Regions from separate parts of the Homo sapiens genome. Here region 2 is linked to region 1. The links are contacts of gene promoters, found by promoter capture Hi-C in human tissues and cell types (Jung and others, 2019). All regions are on one chromosome and are shown on one strand. Each heading gives the region's core, a stretch centred on a gene start or on the middle of the fragment in contact. The rest is flanking DNA. Distances are from core to core; before and after follow the strand shown. Region 1 holds the start of MRO (maestro). Region 2 has its middle 280 kb from the start of LINC01630.

The links. Contacts are between HindIII fragments. The study calls those that stand out against the background at their distance.
Region 2: a fragment that was not itself captured here is called in contact with the fragment with the promoter of MRO in region 1 in 1 of the 25 tissues and cell types used here (lymphoblastoid cells).

What each region holds. Positions count from the first base shown.
Region 1 is chr18:50,818,627-50,821,376 of GRCh38, forward strand. MRO (maestro) reads right to left here and starts at 1,390. Exons shown (of 8, transcript NM_031939.6): 1 at 1,271-1,390; 2 at 955-1,076. RefSeq lists enhancers at 1,075-1,708, 1,545-1,594. The HindIII fragment of the contact is 21,582 bases long and covers 1-2,750 here.
Region 2 is chr18:51,673,643-51,676,392 of GRCh38, forward strand. No RefSeq gene overlaps it. Among named protein-coding and RNA genes, the nearest start is that of LINC01630, 280 kb to the left of the region's middle. The HindIII fragment of the contact is 4,774 bases long and covers 1-2,750 here.

The DNA.
Region 1 (2,750 bases), core at 140-2,639:
TTTATTTATTGAAGCCAAAAGGTATATTATGAAGGCCAAAATTATAAAACACTTTGATTTTATCTCATCTGTAAAATGAGCAGAAGAAACTGTTAGATTGCTTAAAAATCCTTCCAACACTGAACTTATAAATGACAATAGTAGGCTGCGTGTGGTGGCTCATGCCTATAAATCCCAGCATTTTGGGAGGCTGAGGCAGGCAGATTGCTTGAGGTCAGGAGATCAAGACCAGCCTGAGCAACATGGTGAAACCCCGCCTCTACTAAAAATACAAAAATTAGCCAGACATGGTGGTGCACACCTGTAGTCCCAGCTACTCAGGAGGCTGAGGCAGAAGAATCACTTGAACCCAGGAGACAGAGGTTGCAGTGAGCCGAGATCGGGCCACCGCACCCCAGCTTGGGCAACACAACAAGACCCTGTCTCAAAAAAATGAAAAAAAAAATTAATATTAAAAAAATCGTCTTCATTTTAGAAAAGAAGAAACTGGGCTTAAAGTAATGTTGAACAATTAACTCAAAGTCAAATACTGGCAGAGCAGATTTTAGGACTCTGAAAGATATCCTTTCAGTCACTGTGCTATAAGCCTAGGTTCAGCTCCCAGGCAATGTCCTGTGAGCTGAACGAGGGAAGACAGACCGCATAGACATTTCAGTTTAAAGTGTCAATATCTTCCCTGAGTCCCTGCCATTCTATTATATTGCTGACAATAGAATGATCTATAACCCAACTATTGATCGATTAACATAGTTTGTGAAAAGCAAACAAAATCAGCTTCCTGGTCAACATTGCCCACTTCAGTTTTACAAAGAGAACATTACCAAATCCTACCCCCTAGAGGTCGAGCTCCCATACTGGTGACCAGAGTGACATTCCAGAAAGGTTTTGGGAACCCAAGTGCAGCCAGGACGCCTCCCGCTGCATCTGGCTGCCCCGGCCAACAGTGTCCCTTACCTGCGGCTCCTGCAGGCGGCTGCCACGTGATGAACCGGAGCCCGTTCCTGACTCGGGAGGGCTGCTTTCCCGGGTAGTAGCCAAATGTGATGACTCGGCTAAATTTTCCCAGCCCTGAATTCCTAACATACAAGAAGGGAAATTAGGAGGTGACGCAGGGTCTGTCCAGGATAACGGGTCGGCACAGAGTGTTGGAAAGTGAGAATCAAATAAGAGGGGAAAGTCAAAGTTTATAGAGTATTTGGGCAGGGGAGGGAATTGTTCTGGAATGAAACCGACAAGAATATTGTAGGGTGGCACAAGCATGACTTGCTACCTTTGCTTCCCCACGCCATGCTGAGGTGTTTTTCCTTCTCCTTGCTGTGATTTCCCCTCCTTCTTCCCTCATGCCAGCCTGGTCGACACTTTCTGCAGAAATTCTGCAGATGGCAATTCTGGGGACCTTTCCTCTGCACCAAACAAAACCTCCCTGCCAAGGCCCGTTCCCCATGCGGCCGCGAGATGGCGGCATGACTCAATGGACGGGTTCCAGGCGACCCCTGCACAAAGCCGCCGCCGTGGCTGCCTCCTTCCTTACATAATCCTGTTAGAGCGCATTTAATCTAAGGATGGGACACTGTGTTCCATGCCAAGCAGCCTCATCGTGGCTGATTGTTGCACCAACAACAAGAGCTTTAACCGTTGACGTCCCTTCCTGCTCAAGAAACACCGTATGTCCCGAAAGGAGCGATTTAAGCTCTCAAAATGATTTATTGGTAAAAAGCAAAGCAAAATTAAAACCGGGGAATTACAGCACCTGCAGAATTTAGGAGCCTCTCTCTCTCATCAGCCCTCCTTCCCTGACTCTCCAAACACGTGCATAAATCTATTTAACAATAATTAGTTATCGTCTCGCTCTGCATTGGGTCATAAAGGGAGAAAATATGTCCTGAAAGGAAAAAAGAACAGTTATATTTTCAAAGACAGAGGCACTTATTGTTATGCTAATAGATAACATTCAATTAAAACTTCTGTGTGCCAAATGTTGTGATAAATATTACATAGACTATCTCATTCAATTGTTACATCAAACCAAAGGTTAATACTCCTACTATAGTCTCCATTTTAAGGCTGGAGAAACTGAGGCACAGGGAGATTACCTTGACAAAGGTCATGCAGTTAATTTGTGGCAGTTAAAATTCAGCTACAGGCAGGCTAATGTAAGAGCTTGGACTCAGCCATGATGCTATGCACTGGACTGGTCTAGAAAACCCAGGAGATAAACAGAAAAATATAAACCAGAGAACTATGTCAGAGTGGAAGATGAAAGAAAAAGGCAGAAAGAAAATCGATGCTGCTGAGAAAATAAGAAGAATGAGGCTAAAACACCACCCTCTTCAGATTAAGTTACAAGGGAACCACTGTGACATTTGAGGACACAATTTCAATAGAGTGACAGAGAAAGGAAGCTAGACTGCAAAACTAAGGGGCTATGAGGAAAGAGGAAATTGAGATGTCTTGCTGCAAAAGGAAAGCAATAAATAGACTAGAAGAGACAGCAAGGTCAGGCAAAAGCATTTTGGTTTTCTTGTGTGCTTTTTGAAATGGAATAAAGCCTGGCCTTGTTTGAAAGTGGTTGCAAGGGAGCCCTAATATGTGGCTGGTGCCAAGTAGTGGTAATAGGAAGAGGTGGAGGGGGCATCAAGGGCACGAGGGAAAGGGTTAGCTCTGGAGGAGGAAGAAAGATGGCTGCCTCTGCCTGCAACTGGGAGGCAGCCACAGAGATGAAGATACATCAACACAAAACTGAGAGGAAT
Region 2 (2,750 bases), core at 83-2,582, 850 kb after region 1:
AAGGTATTAGGAGAATTGGCATACTTAAGTGTACAAAGATAAACATTAAGAAAGATAATATTGTTACCTAAAACATAGGTGGTCAGAGAAGAGGAAATGTGCTAATTTTATCATTGTTCAGAATAATAAATTAATATGTATGGTTTAAAGAAACAAAGAACAAAGGGGATTATGTACAATTATACATAACATTTTTCTATATCAGAATAAATATACCCAAAAATTCAAGCAAAAAAAATACTACACAATAAAAGAAAATCTCAGAAAAAAGAGAGAAAAAAAAACACAAAACTAGGCTGGGTGTAGTGGCTCACACCTATAATCCCAGCACTTTGGGAGGGCAAGGCAGGCGGATCACTTGAGGTCAGGAGTTCGAGACCAGCCTGGCCAACATGGTGAAACCCTGTCTCTACCAAAAATATAAAAAATTAGCTGGGTGTGGTGGTGCACTCCTGTAATCCCAACTACTCAGGAGGCTGAGGCAGGAGAATTGCTTGAACCAGGGAGGCAGAGGTGGCAGTGAGCCAATGTTGTGTCACTGCACTCCAGCCTGGGTGACAGAGCAAGACTCCTTCTCAAACAAAACAAAACACAACAAAAAACAAAACCAAAAAAACCCCATAAAACTAAATGGTAGATATAAGATGAACGTATTTCTTATATTAATTGATGAAGGGAACTTAACTCATTTCTCAGAAGAAGGAATTTCGAAGTGGATCAGAAAAACAAACCAAACTGTATGGTATATAGAAAACATAAGACAAAGTAATTCTGTAAAATTGAAAATTAGAGGTTTGAGTAAAGTTGTGCTAAAAAATGCAACAAAACAAAAAACAAAGCCAACCAACCAAACAAAATAAGATAAAAACTGACGAAACAAAATAAAACAAACAAGAAAAGAAACAAGAAAAAAAAGTAAACAAGCAAGAGTCTTAACATTAAAAATAGTAGAATTTAGGCAAAAATAAGGATTTAATATAACGAAAGGCAGTTTTATCCTATAGTGTGCACCTCATGAGTCTTTAATAATTATGCTTATCTACACATCAAATACCAATGGCACTCACGTTATAAAGTACAAATTACAAGAGATAAATAAAAAGGAAAGAAGAAACACAAGCACTAAGGGACTTTAATTCACCTCTTTCAATCTTTGATAGAGGAAGTGGAACATTGTGGGAAACAAAATAGTATGATTCACAGGTAGATAAGATGGATGTATCTCAAACTATACTTTGAAAATAGAGAACGCACATTTCTTCCATGTTTCTAGGGGATATTTAAAAAACTTAACTATAGAATAGGTCAATAGAGAAAAATCTCAATATGTTCCAGGAGGTAATGCAGACACAGTCATTTTTCACAATGTAATAAGAATAAAGCTTAACAACAAAATCAAATAATAAAATGTGCCTTCTAACTGGGATTTTTTAAAAGTTCTCTTATTCAACTTCTCCAGCAATAATGTCATATAATCAAAATATCATAATTTCTTAACAATAATTAATACACAGTGATTCAAACAACTTGACATGTAAAATATAGGCAAAGAAGTGAGGAAAAGAAAATTCACAGTTTTAAATATTTATATCAATAAGTATGCATGAATAAAATAAGTTAGATATCCAATTCAAAAAGTTAGTAAAACAGCAATAAACTACACTGAGGAAAAGCATAAAGAAGAAATTATTGTAAGTAAAATTGGAAATTAATCAATTGGAAAACTGAAAATCACAAACTTAAGCTACTTCCAAAAGCTGGCACTTTACAAAATAATAGAATAAATAAGGTAACAGGTAATCTAAACAAAGAGAAAAATATCTATTTCAGGAGAAGAGACAGGTAAGCAAAATATATAAAATAAGAAAATGAAAAAGGGAAATAACTACATAATTATAGAAAAATTTAAATCTACCTATGTTTTACCCAACTTCATGTAAATAATTTTGAAAATTTCATTTAAGTCAGTTATTTTCTAGGAAAAATAATTGATCAAAATTGACCCCAGAAGAGATAAAACTTATAATTTTGTTAATTTGAACAGAAGAAATAGGTAAACACACTAGATTCAGTTTTTCATATAGAGGAATTCAATCAAATCTTTAAAGAACATTTCAATTCTTCAAGAACAAAAATAAAAAAATCCATATTTTTAATGAAGTGAATAAACTATTGCTGTCAAAGCCTGATAAAGACTGTACTGAAAAGAAAGTTATAGAAAAATACCACATATGAAGATTAACTATCCCAAGTAAATCACAAATAAGCAGAATTCAGTACCTCATTAAAAGATTCATATATCTGAGGAAATAGATTTATTTTCTAGGAATGCAAGGTCCTCAGTATTAGAAAAATGAAATAATGTACCATTATAATTGACTGAAGGAGCAAAACAGACACTGAAAATGTTGATAACATTCAACAATTATTATTGCTCAAAACAGCAAAAAATATCAATTTTCAACGTAATAAAATATACCTATCTTAGCCCAAAGTCAACGGTATGTTTAATGAGGGAAATACTAGAGATAATTCCTCTGAAGTCAGAAACTAAACATGATTACATAATTACTAGGTAACATTAGTTACTGCTGGTATTCACCAACACAATTAGAAAAGAAATTAGAAAGCTAGAAACAAAAAATAAACCTATGAAAAGTTGGAGTTGATATGATGAATAATCTAAGGTAAGAAACAGAAATACGCAACAAAGAGTAAGAATATTCAATAAAATAGTGGAGTAAAAAAAT